3 separate regions of the Homo sapiens genome follow, and all the other regions are linked to region 2. The links are contacts of gene promoters, found by promoter capture Hi-C in human tissues and cell types (Jung and others, 2019). All regions are on one chromosome and are shown on one strand. The core of a region is centred on a gene start or on the middle of the fragment in contact, and the rest is flanking DNA. Distances in the headings are between cores, read along the strand shown.

Region 1 (4,196 bases), core at 1,080-3,579, 160 kb before region 2:
TGGACTACCTGCTTACTGAGCAAAGCCATCCATTCATCAAAACAATATCAAAAAGTTACTACCCAACTGTGCTTCAGAATACGAGGGTGGCATCCTATATTGCTCTAATCATATTACTTACGATTTTATAAGTTGTCTGATTAGAAGGCTGATTTAATTAGAGTACTAATAGAAATGACAAACATTACATATGCTCATATATTGCTAAACCTTTTTCAATTATATTGGAGGTACCACCAGTGTGATGGCTAATGGTATACATTCAGGCCTTTAATGACGGACGGCCTCAAGCAATCTGCACACATCTTTATGACACACGTTAAATATACATTCAATGTACTGCTGAGAAATTTAGCAGAAGTGTCGATTCAAGCTCTTTTGCCAGACCCGGAGTAATCCAGCTGTCAGTAAACGTGTCTTATACTGACTTGAATGCTGTAGTGAGAGCCCAATGAACACACACAGGAAAAATGGGAATTCTTTTTTCCTTGACGTATTATACCTTATTGCTCTGGTATCTTTTGATAAGTTATAATCCAAGGAAAGCCCTTCCAAAATAAATAGTTATCATCAGGAGCTATGCCAAAGAATGAAATACACCTCAGTTTCCCATATGTAATGAACCGCAAGACTAAAAGCAAAGAATTCAGAAATATCTTGTGACTGTAAACACACAGCAGCCACTCTACTGTACAGAGAGGGACTTAGCTATGGCGCTGTCAGCCCCTGCTTGGCTGGATTTAAAAGTGTCAGAAAAGAGAGGTGGAGATCTGTTTCTTTAGCTGTGCAGCAGAGTCCTGAGTAGGACTTGTTCTGTTGCCCTATGTTGGTGACCAAGGAAGCAAAGCTAAGGTCAAAGAGATGGGCAAGTGCACTGCAGTCTACAGAGTACTAATGATTGAGAAAAGACACCTCCGGAAAAGCTTAGGGAGATGGTAGAATAGTCCTGCGACACCACACTCCCCACTTGCCCCTCCTTCCTCCTTCTCAGTCTAGAGAAGACAAAGAAGACAGCAGGTGGAATTAGCTCCGGGTCTTCTGCCTAGTGAGAGTAGCTACAGCTTTCCCTTCTTCTTTCCCTAGCATTGTTATCCTTTCTTTCAACTAAAGCAAGAGAAAGGTGACTATCTAAGAGAATTACTTTGGAGGAGCCAGCTTGAAGGAGAACCTGGCATCCTGCTTCCCAGCTGGATGACTGCAGGGTCAGCCGCTTTGCTGATCAGCCCTGAGTCCCCCAACCACCCTGAGCAGGCAAAAAGTGAATTGGAGAGAAATGGTAGGGCAAGAGGGGTCAGGAACCATCTAGCAAAGGCTAGGATGAGCGAGCTTCCCAAGCACCAGTGGGTCTACATCCCTTTGCCAGGGTCCTACTCAAGGGGGCAGCCTGCATGTCAAGGGAGCTCAGGAAGGAAAGGCTGTGGGCTGTACCACCAGGAGCGGAGCTGAGGGGTGGCTTGATAAAGCCGGGTTGACATTGTATCTCCTACAGCCAGGAAACACAGGACAGGGAGTCCCCTGAAGGGGCTCTAAGGAGACCTCCCTTGAGTACCATGAAAAGGCCAGTATTTGGATGTCTCCCACCTGGCAGGCACCCACCACCAGTCAGGGGTACCACAGAAGCAGGCACATCTCCAGAGAGAGGATGGCAGCCATGGTCAGTGGTGTGAGAGACACTATCTCCGCCCCACCCTAAAATACAGGAAGGGAAGGAGAATGAGAAGAAGAACAGAGTAAGAGTGTCCCAGAACTAAATCAAATTCCTTTACCCTTTTCCAAGGCAAGGGAAGGGGAGGAAGATGGAAAGAGTAAGCACCCCCTCCCCAATCCAAGTCTTTTATTTTTATTTTGAAATTGATACATTAATATTTGTACATATGTATGGGGTACATGTGATATTTTGATGCATACATACAATATGTAATGATCAAACCAGGGTGTTTAGATTATCCATCGCCAGGAACGTTTATCATTTCTTTGTGTTGGGAATATTTCAAATCTTCTAACTATTTTGAAATATATATTGTTGCTAACTGTCATCACCCTACTGTGCTACCCAAAACTAACATTTATTGCTTCTACCTAACTGTATGTTTGTATCCATTAACCAACCTATTCTTCCCCTCTTCCTTCCTCCACCTACACACACCCTTCCCTGCCTCTGGTAACCATCATTCTACTCTCTACCTCCTTGAGATCAACATTTTTTAGCTCCCACATATGAGTGAGAACATACAATATTTGTCTTTCTGTCCCTGACTTACTTCACTTAACAGAATGACCTCCAGGTCCATCCAAGTCCTTTTAAAACTAAAGAAGGCAGGTGCTGGAGGGAATGGAAAAGATGAGATTTACAAAGAATATGAGAATGGTGCTTTAAACTAGACAACCCTGAGTTCCTTTTTATTATTATTATTTTTTTGAGACGGAGTTTCGCTCTTGTTGCCCAGGCTGGAGTGCAACGGTGCAATCTCGGCTCACTGTAACCACTGCCTCCTGGGTCCAAGCAATTCCCTTGCCTCAGCCTCCCGAATAGCTGGGATTACAGACATGCACTACCATGCCTGGCTAATTTTTTGTATTTTAGTAGAGATGGGGTTTCTACACGTTAGTTAGGCTGGTCTCAAACTCCCGACCTCAGGTGATCCGCCTGCCTCGGCCTCCCAAAGTGCTGGGATTACAGGCATGAGCCACCATGCCCGGCGAGTTTCTTTTTAATTAATGAAAACAAGTGAGGTTCCACCAAAAATGTTCAATTTAATACATCTTTTTTGAGGATCCACCATGTGTCAGTCACCATTTTAGGCACTTGAGTGACAATGACACTAATGAATGAAACAAAGATCCCAGCCTTCCTGTTACTTATGGAGAAGAGAGATTTAATACAGTGCAGTTAATACACTGAGTGGAGAAAAATAAAACTACTGAACTTCTACTGGGTTCAGACTAGTCGATAAACCAGTTTCAACAGCTTTCAAAGATTAAATAACTTCTTTCTGAAAGTTTTGCTCTCACAAAAACACTGAGTTCTGCAAAAGGACCTAGAGATTGAACAGGAGGGGATGGGATCTGAAGGCAAGCTGATGACACCAGGCAACTGTTATGGGCTTAGAGAGATGTGTAAGGGCACTTGGAATAGACTGAAATAGACTAGATTACCCCCTTTCTGCCTCCATGGTGTTTGCTTTCTTCACTGATTCCATCCACACCGAGCCTTATCTCCTCAGTATAATAAAATCAACCTGAGACAGGAATCAGTGCAAAGCAAGACCACAGCTGTGATGTGGACCAGATAAGAATTTAAGATCTGCTTTACATTTGCCAATGGAAGCACTGCCATGTTTTCTAAATAGTTGCTTGTAGAGAAAAAGACATTACACAGTAAATAGGTCCACATTTACAGACAACTCAAAAATCTCTGGATAGGCACCCAAAGGAATGGATTTTGTCTCCATTCCTAGTTTCTGAGTTGATTCTATTTTCCTGGAGAAGGATCTTGAAACTCATGAAGTCTGACCAAGATAAGAAGGAGCCTCTGGAGTGTTGGGGATAATAACTCCGAAATCCACAGTAAATTCTACTCCTGTCTCCTTTTTGAGGGGGATCATTGTTATTCTTCTCAAAAGCCCCTTTCTGGAGTACAGTGCCTTTTTTTTTTTTTTTTTTTTTGTAAGATTGGTGGTGTTGGCCAGGCACAGTGGCTCATGCCTGTAATCTTAACACTTTGGGAGGACGAGGCAGGGGGATCACCTGAGGTCAGGAGTTCGAGACCAGCCTAGCCAACATGGTGAAATCCCATCTTTACCAAAAATTCAAAAATTAGCGGGGTGTAGTGGCATGCACCTGCAGTCCCAGCTACTTGGGAGACTGAGGCATGAGAATCACTTGAACCTGGGGGGCAGAGGTTGCAGTAAGCCGAGCTCATATCACTGCACTCCAGCCTGGGTGACAGAACAAGACTGTCTCAAAAAAAAAAAAAAAGATTGGTGTTGTTGGAGCTCAGAAAATGATATCCCAAAATATGGCACTTTAACATGCTGAACTAAGGAGGCCACCCCCCTAATCCTCTGTCTCTCCCAAAGCACAGGATCACACAGTTCTTTGAAGTTTCCTTATCTACCCAGAAACTGGACCCCTAAAGACACAATTGCCTTCAATCGCTTCCCTGAAATTTCATTAACCAGGAAAGATGAAAACTC
Region 2 (4,485 bases), core at 1,009-3,508:
CTCAAAAACACCCCCCTTCCCCCGCCCCATGTGGACAGGTCGCGTCGCGGCACCCACGGGCACCGCGGAAAGGGGCATAACCGGGGTGGCCCCCGCCCAGGTGGCAGCGGAGACCCAGGGCCAGGCGGACTAGGCTTGGTCCCCACCCCTCCTCTCCGGGCCCTGCCACGGCCCCGCCCCGCCGTCAGTAGAGCCCCCGGCCCGCGGTCGGCCGGTCAGCGCACGCGCGTAGGTGTGCCTGCCAGGATGCCCTCCCCGGCGACGCGCTCAGGCCCGGATTCCGCGGCGCGAGAGTGAGCGCTGGCGGGGGCGGTGGGATGCTCCAAGTCGGCGTGAAAGAGGCGAGAGTGGGCGAGCACGGGCGGCCGGACCAGGAGCACTCCCGGTGACCACCTAGTCTCCATTTTATTTCCTCGGAAACTGCCGGGCAGGCGGGGGACCGGCCGCAGGGCGGGGTTTCTCTTGGCGGTGAGTGAGCGAGACCGTTAGGCTGAAGCACCGGGAGACTGTCCTGGCAGCTCCTGGCCGCCACCCGCGCCGCAATAAAAGCCTCTCGCGGCTTCCCGCCCAGCCAGCTTCGCACTGATTGGTCGCCGTGGGAGGGACCCGAGTTGGCTGGAGGCGGCGGCCGAGCGCTGCTCTTGTGCCGCCCGCGGAGGGGGCGCACTGGGTGCTCCCTGGCCCGCCCCGTGCGCTCCCCAACCGGGGGTCGGCCGTCCAGGGCAGGTACAACGGTACCTGGAGCTGCGACCGCGACACACAGCCCCTCCGCCCGGCTTTCCTCGATCGCTTCCCAGCACACGCCCCCCGCCCAGAATGTCCGCCCAACCCACCCAGCTCTCTGCGGCCCCTGCTTTTCTTCCTTCCCTCCCGTCCATCAGAGCCAAAGCGCAAATCCTTGGGTGGAGGTGGGGGGATGACAGCTGGAGGGGAGGGTGGGCACGCACAGAAGAATTTTCCAGGGAGGCCGGGATGGAAATAGCCAAAATGAAATGCACCTCCCTGCACACTGCCGAGGTTCTCTGGGCGGCGGCGCAACCCCCGCCACCCGCGGCAGCATCACTACTGTCTTCCTCCCAGCTCCCTATTGTTCACACTTTGCCAGGATCGGGAACCTCGCCCAAAGAAAGGAGACAGGGCGAGGTGTTTCGGGCGGCTACCTGCCATTCTTCTCCCGCCCCGTGCAACACTGGGCACGCGGCGCGTGTAAAGACACACGCGCGCACACGCGCGCGCACACACCAGGCAGCCCCAATCACGCCCTCCTCGCCCTCCGCCCCTCCGCACTTCCTCCTGTCAAAACGCGGCGCTCGACCCTCCCATCCTTCAGTGCTCGCGGCCGAGGGTAGGCTTTGCAACTAACCAGCAATTTGGCAAATGAAAAACTAACGTCATGTCGACTGGGGTGCAACAACGGTCACACCAACAACAACGGCCGTGCGATTCTGCCCATTTTGCCCCATTTTGCAAACCGTTATTCTTCTGGGGCGGGGGAAGCAAAGCAGCGATCCTGACTTTATTAGACCCAGGAATATAACGATCTGGGGCGGCTGCCCTAGCCTTATTGTTCACTCTTCCCGGAGCCGGGGCTGACAAGCCACTTCCCCCTCGGAATCCGAGCCCGTGCGGCGGCACCACCCGAGCCGCGACCTCCCCCGCCCCGCCGCCCGCCTTTGGGGAAGGAGCGCTGCCCATCACCAGCGCGGCCGCTGAGTCCCCAGGAGCCGGCCGGCTCTGCTCCCACCGCCGCGGGCGCACAAAGTGGGAAGGGCGGACGCGCCGGAGGGGCGCCGGGCGCTGGCGGCTCGGGGAGGCAGCCCCGTGCAGCGCAGCCCTGGAGGGAGCGGGGTTCGGCTGGGCAGCAAGGGCGACGCGCTCCTTTCACAGCTAAACGAAAATGACCAGCCTTAGCAGTCCACGTAAAACCACCCAAAATAATAGCGTTCCTCCTAGGAGTAGGAGGAAGGGGTAATTAGCAAACCAGATTGAGAATTAAAAAAAAAAAAAATGTACCTGCAGTTCCCAGGAAAAACAAAGTCCAGATGAGATCCTTAGTTTGCAGCATTGTAATCTGCTGGCTGGGAGGGATGTTCTTGCCGCGGTAAATTCTGTGCCCCCCCCCCTGCAGCGAGTGTGGACGGCGGCTGAGCGACAGACCTAGGGGCAGACAATTGCCAGGCTGAGTATGATTATTTTTGCAGAATTGTTTCCTGCCAGCGGCAGCCGAGCTGCGTTCACGCGCTGATCGGAGAATGAGTGACAGTCCCAGCCTCAGCACACTCGCAACTCGGAGATCCTTGCGCTGGCCCGGGTTCGTTTTGATGGAACTGGGATGGGAGCGAGGAGCGGGGGGCGGGGGTGAGAACCTCACTGTGTCCTTCCACCACGCCGGCCACAAATAGTGCCGAACATCAAGGAGGTAAGAGAGACAGGGGAGGCAGATGCGGAAGCCTGCAAAACGCGGCCTGGAGCTTTTGGGGGAGCCGGGCTCTTTCACACGCAGTCTCCCTGGGAGAGCTGGGATTTCTTTTCACACTTCTACCCTACGCCTTCGCAGGCGCTCCTGCTACCCAGCCTTCCTTAATCAGCAGTTTGCATATTTTGATAACTAGTAAATAATAAAAGCAAAATTTTAGATTTGGTTAGGTAAAGTTGTCAAATCCCTCCATTTCGATTCTAAGATCCTTGCAACACAAGGATAGCCCAGGACTTTAAGTGCGGGAAATTAGAACTTTGGAGAGGGATGGGGGTTGCCGTTGCTGGGTGTTGTTTGGATATTGTTTGTTTGTTTGTTTTATCCTAACTGTGAAGTTTGCTCTCCCACAGAGAGACATACAACACCCTTCAGCAGATCCCCTGGGAAGGAGGTGGGAAGAGACTTAAGTTAGAAGAAAACTCCGATGTTTGGAAGAGATTTCCAGAAATAACCCGAAGAAAATGTTTTCCTGTTTATAAATTCTGAAATCTGTGGTCTCTTTATTAAAATAGCCAGGCTTTTATATAGGTATTATGATATAGAAGCGTCATTAAATAATATTTTCTTACATGGGGACGTGACCTTAATTCTTAAAGATATTAATGTATAATATTACTGAGGTACCAACACAATAGGCTTTAATTAAAATTCCACCCGTGTTTTCAAAAGTAGGGGGTGGAGAAAGCGGGGTGAAAAGAATCATGTCTCAGCACCTGAAGGCTTGGGTATGTAAGGAACTAATGTGAGAAAGGTGTTCTAGATGTCAGGTTAACCCATTAGCCTAGAACACTGAAACCCTCTAACAGAGGAAGTCTGCATAAGTTCAAAGGCATTAAAGCACTAATGTTACCGGGTACTCCGTTTTTCTTCAAAGGTCGGCCTCCCCACTCCTGTAGCAGGTTTTTTGTTTTGTTTTGTTTTGTTTTGTTTCTGTTTTGTTTTTTTGAGATGGAGCCTCGCTCTGTCGCCCAGGCTGCAGTGCAGTGGCGCCATCTCTGCTCACTGCAACCTCTGCTCCCGGTTCAAGCGATTCTGCTGCCTCAGCCTCCTGAGTAGCTGGGATTACAGGCGCGCGCCACCACGCCCAGCTAATTTTTGTATTTTTAGTAGAGACGGTGTTTCACCATGTTGGTCAGGCCGGTCTCGAACTCCTGACCTCGTGATCTGCCCACCTCAGCCTCCCAAAGTGCTAGGATTACAGCCGTGAGCTACCGCACCCAGCCGCTGTAGCAGTTTTTAAAAGTCCATCCTCTACTGTCAGGACATCCATCCTTATTGGACAGGCCCCATCTCTTCCCCACTTTCCTCCTCTATAATAGACCAAGTGGGCCACACCAGTACAGTGTAATTAGCTTGGACCCCTGAAAAGTATTTCTTCCCCCAAGTAAATCTTCCACAACGTTTACTTTGGGCTATTTCTCTCATTCCAAGTATAAACAATTCAAAAGTACAGAAAAGTAGAAAGAACTAAAAATAACCCCAAATCCCACAGATTCCAGAGATACTCATAGATTTTGTCTTCTGTATGTGCATATGATTTTTATAATTGACATATTATAGTAGCAATTTGAATCCTGCTGATTTTGCCTAACATCAGTATAAGCATTTATTCCTCTGGATCATTAAAAAGCTTTTCTAGATATTTTTATAGCTATGTAATATTTCTTCATATGGATGATTTTGCAATGGTTTCCCCATTTTTGCATATTTATATTGTTTGTGGAGTTTGATAATATAAATAAGGCTTTTTTGAACATCTTTCAACAAATATTTGCGGAGCAACCACTGGGTTTAGCCCTGTGCTAGATGCAGTGAATTATATACGTCTTTTTTTAATGGTTGCTGTATTTAAGTGTCTTTGATTTCAGACTTCTGCTTCTAACATCTAAAATCACCACATTAAATATTACAGATTTATGTAAATGAATGTTATCAGACTCTTTCCTTAAAAAAGAGGTTTTGATGGTGAGGAAAGATAGAGAGAACAGGCAGGGGGTAGAGTGGGGAGA
Region 3 (4,131 bases), core at 823-3,322, 130 kb before region 2:
AGCTTCATTGCCCCTGCAACAGGAGATAAATAAAGTCTCTCTATAGTTTTCTTTCTCATACACTTAACACAAAAGCTTGTACAAATTCAACTTAAATACATCTTGATGATGATAGTAGTAATCCCACCATGATTTTAGGAATTTATGTCAAAATACATGTCCATTAATGATAAGTCAATTTATTTTGACATAAATTCATCTTGTCCTTTAAGGAACCATTTAATTGCTTTCACTAACAATTATCTAAAGTATGTTCTAAAAAACAGCTACTAACCTTAAGAACAAAGAGTTAAAAAAAAAAAAAAAAAAGCCCAAGTCACCTCTTATAAATTTCAACTGATCTATTTAACAGAGTTCCCAATGAAGCTGGCAGTCATCCTACAGGTAACCAGATCATTCAGCTAACGGGAGGGTATGTTTGTTGACTCCTAATTTGATGATAGCTCTCTATGTTAGATGAGCGACTCTACTCATTTCAGTTGAACTCAACAAACTTACTCAATTTCTACCTTGGTACCATCTTTCTGTTAAGTCTTGGAAAAATATAAGAAGTAAGACATAAAACCTACCCTTAAATGAGTTATCATTTGTGCAGGTGTCTGGCATACAGAAGATGCTCAATAAAACTATGCTGAATCCACTAAAGCAGAAGTCAACATTAGATAAAAGCCATAAGAAAGATTTACCAAGTGGCCCAAGGCCTGCAGCTTGAAGAAGTAGAAAGGGCTTGGAATTTGGAATCAGAGTGAGCCAAGATGGAATCTCAACTCTGAGGCTTCAGCAAGCTTTTTAACATGTCAGACTCAGTTTGGTCCCACATAAAATGGAGATAAGAAGTCTGCCGTCTTGCAAGACTTTCCATTAGGGCATTAGATAGGATACTTGTAAAGCATGGGATTGGCACAGGGCAGGGGGGGTTCAACAAATGGTAATCAGGGTCTGGCATGGAAGGGAGCTTGCAGGGAGTAGTGCCTGCTGTGTAACAAACTTGTCAGGGGAGAGACAGCTGGAAGACACTCCAGGTAGAGGCAGCATTGTGAGCAGAACCTGGAAAAAAAGCATGAGGGTGTATCTGGGGGATGGTGAGTCACTCTGTTAGCTACATTAGGATGGCTGAGGCAACAAGATAGGAGAATGAAAAGTAAGATGTAGTCGTGGGATGAGGGCTCTGAACCCCAGGCTCAGGGGTTTGTCATCAGTGATGCCAGTTAAAAAGGGATCCACTGCATTGAAATAATTAACAAAAGGTTAAAAAATCCAGAAAAAGCATAGAGTTAGAAGGGACCTGATCTTGTCCAATAGCCACATTTTTACAGAGAAGGAAAGTGATGAACAGAGTGCTTAGAAAACATACTCAGGGTTCAATTTCCATCGAGAAGCATTCCCTGACCTCGGAGCTGGGCTGCAGTTGGCATTTCAAACCCACTGTCCGCATTAACCTGAACGTAACACACAACCCTGTGTATACCTTTACCATACAAAACACATTAACAACACATTAACATCTCTCACGTTCACCCTGACAATTCTCTCTCCTTTATTCTGCTTCTTAAAGGTAGCTCCTCCCTTCCTCAGGCTCCCTTGTCATTAATTTTTCTCTGTCTCTCATTCCCTATTTTTAACTGATAACACATTTTGTCAATTCTATTTCAGAAAGGTATCTCAAGTTCAACTCCACCACCCCCACTTGGTATCCCACTGCTGGAGACCCAGCTCAGCCTGGAGTTGTTAGGTAAGTGCCCACTTCTCTCACAGTCAATAGCTATCCCAAGCCAGGCCATCCTTTGCTCTGTGACCCCAGTGCACTTCCTGAAGTCAGACCTGACCTTGCCAAGTCTTGCTTACAGACCTCCTTCAGAGCCTGACAGGTCTGTGTCTGAATTCCTGTGGGCCTAATAGCAATAATTAATTATAATAAAAACACTAAATGTTTACCCTGTCTCAGACATTATACTAGATATTCCATTTACGTCATTTTATTTAATCCTTGCAGCAGATTTTTAAAAACAGCTATTATTATTCATTCTACAGAAACAGAAACTGAGGCACTGGCAGATGACAGGAATTTGCTCAAGGTCACACAGTCGGTAGGAGGTGAGGCACAGGCTGTGAACCCAGAATGTCTGGGGCTAAAGCACAAGGCTAATCCAACTGGCTCCCAACTTAAATTTAGCCTCCTTAAGACCCAGTTTCTTCATCTGTAAAATGGGATTAATAAAATCTGCCTTGTAAGATTGTTGTAAGGATAAAATGAAATGAGAACTCAGAAAACGTCAGCTATTGCTATTAATTGAATGGTTTCCAGTTTCTGGAGAAGGGATTTGGCGAGTCTTAGCTCGGTGTGGTCCCCCCATGGCTTCCCTAGTATGTTTCAGGACCCCTGGGAGGAGCCAGTGCCTTTTCACAGAGTTGGCCTGAATATGGGCTGCCTGCGTTAAAAGAACCACATCCAAGCAATTGCTGGACTGTGTAGCTATTCATTTGCTCAGCACTGATTAACCACTGATTATCGACCACTGTGCTGAAAGCTGGGTAAACTCATCTTAGATGCTCAGTCTATGAGTTAGATAAGCACATACATATACACACACACACACACGCATTCTATTACAGCAAGGTCAGTGCTATATCAGAGGACAATGCAAAGCTGAGAATGTCGTCATTTGTTTTGGAAGGAATTAAAGACACAGCACAAATCCCTCATGAGTACTTAGTTAATGTTAATTTATGATGGATCAGCTATACTGCCGCTCTTCAATCATATTCTCTTTACAAAATTATTGAGTTTTGATAAAAACTCCATGAAATATCAAGATTTAGTTTCTTTCAGTGCTCAAGGTTATGAGGAAATCTTAACTGCAAGAACTCGAAGGTCTCATTTTCTGTAAGCGGTCTAGAAGCTTGAATAAGAGAAATATAAAATAATTAATCATTCAAAACCCGATACTATTTTCCCTATTTATAAAAGCCCTCATATAAAAATACACCTATGGCTGTTTGCATATGAAATAAATATGATTTAATATTAAAGATTTTCCTTTCGACATTTTTCGTTCTTGTCAATGTGACTTAGAAAAGACTTAGGCCACAGCTAACAGAGTTGTTTGACAGTCAACAACAACAACAAATCTGTTCTCCCTTAATTCCAATTCAGATAGCCCAGATGCCCTTGCTGACCTATCTGCCGCTGGCTCATTAGCATGGACTGGTAGAGCCTTGGCCTGAAAAATAGACCCCAGACAGGGGGCAGTTAACAAGAGTGTGGGGCCACAGCAGCGAATTACAAGCCCTAAGTGCTTGTGAAACATGGAATGACACCCAGACATGGGCCTCAATAAGCCTTTTGCCAGAGGAGGAGTGAGAAATGCAGGATTGAGGGTGGAAGAGCAATGGAAAAGCCTTAAGGTTTCACAAGCACAGCAAATGAAAAACTTCTCTGTTCTATGACAATGAGGAAGACTAAGGGAACAATGTAGTTCAATCTCTGAAGGTGAAATGGCCAGCTATGTGAAGGTGTACAAAGCACCCCAAAGCTGCCTATTCAAAAACACAAAACCCATCATCTCTACAGTGATTCTGACAAATCAGCCTGATGTCTATCGTCTAACTCTGATCAAAATGGTGCCAAACGATAGAATGTTTTCCCCTATTCTGATATCCAAATCAATTCAACCTTTTTTTCTTGGATTCTGAACTTGTTTAAGTTACCTCTTTGGTTCACCACTACCTACTGGCCAAATGGTCAACAGATGTCAGATTGGTCCCTCCCCCAAGTCATTGCTGTTCATTTTTGCAGCTGCCGTCTTAACTGTCTAAAGGGGACCCTATGTTTCCCTCTGTATTTGAAGCAGCATGATACCACTTATCTGCTATTGATTGTTTTATCTATCCTTAAAGCCACAGATGGAACAGCCACTAAAGCAGCTTGCAGGTGTGTTTGTTCAGGGGTGGGAGTTGAAGGGGAGCTCCTGCAGAGAAGCACAGCACACTGCAGCTTCCAACTGGTCTGGAAGACCACAGAGCGAAGGCAGAACATCAGGAGAATGTAATGACTTCATGGCCCACAGGGATGGGAGGCCATTCCTGAGTGCTTCCACCAGTCTGCAGAGGACCTTGACTATTGTTATTTGC

Evidence for each region. The method cuts DNA at HindIII sites, captures the fragments that hold promoters and counts their contacts. A contact is called where the count stands out against the background at its distance.
Region 1: a contact is called between a fragment that was not itself captured here and the fragment with the promoter of NCAM1 in region 2, in 1 of the 25 tissues and cell types used here (dorsolateral prefrontal cortex).
Region 3: a fragment that was not itself captured here is called in contact with the fragment with the promoter of NCAM1 in region 2 in 1 of the 25 tissues and cell types used here (dorsolateral prefrontal cortex).

The regions. Positions count from the first base shown.
Region 1 is chr11:113,121,008-113,125,203 of GRCh38, reverse strand. All of the region lies in intron 1 of NCAM1 (neural cell adhesion molecule 1), which reads right to left. Among named protein-coding and RNA genes, the nearest start is that of NCAM1-AS1, 150 kb to the left of the region's middle. The HindIII fragment of the contact is 5,670 bases long and covers 1-4,196 here.
Region 2 is chr11:112,959,193-112,963,677 of GRCh38, reverse strand. NCAM1 (neural cell adhesion molecule 1) reads right to left here and starts at 2,258. Exons shown (of 20, transcript NM_181351.5): 1 at 2,014-2,258. The coding sequence starts at 2,065. NCAM1-AS2 (NCAM1 antisense RNA 2) reads left to right here and starts at 218. Exons shown (of 3, transcript NR_120563.1): 1 at 218-468; 2 at 2,202-2,311; 3 at 2,827-4,399. RefSeq lists an enhancer at 1,538-2,315. The HindIII fragment of the contact is 9,849 bases long and covers 1-4,485 here.
Region 3 is chr11:113,093,784-113,097,914 of GRCh38, reverse strand. All of the region lies in intron 1 of NCAM1 (neural cell adhesion molecule 1), which reads right to left. Among named protein-coding and RNA genes, the nearest start is that of NCAM1-AS2, 130 kb to the right of the region's middle. The HindIII fragment of the contact is 3,283 bases long and covers 431-3,713 here.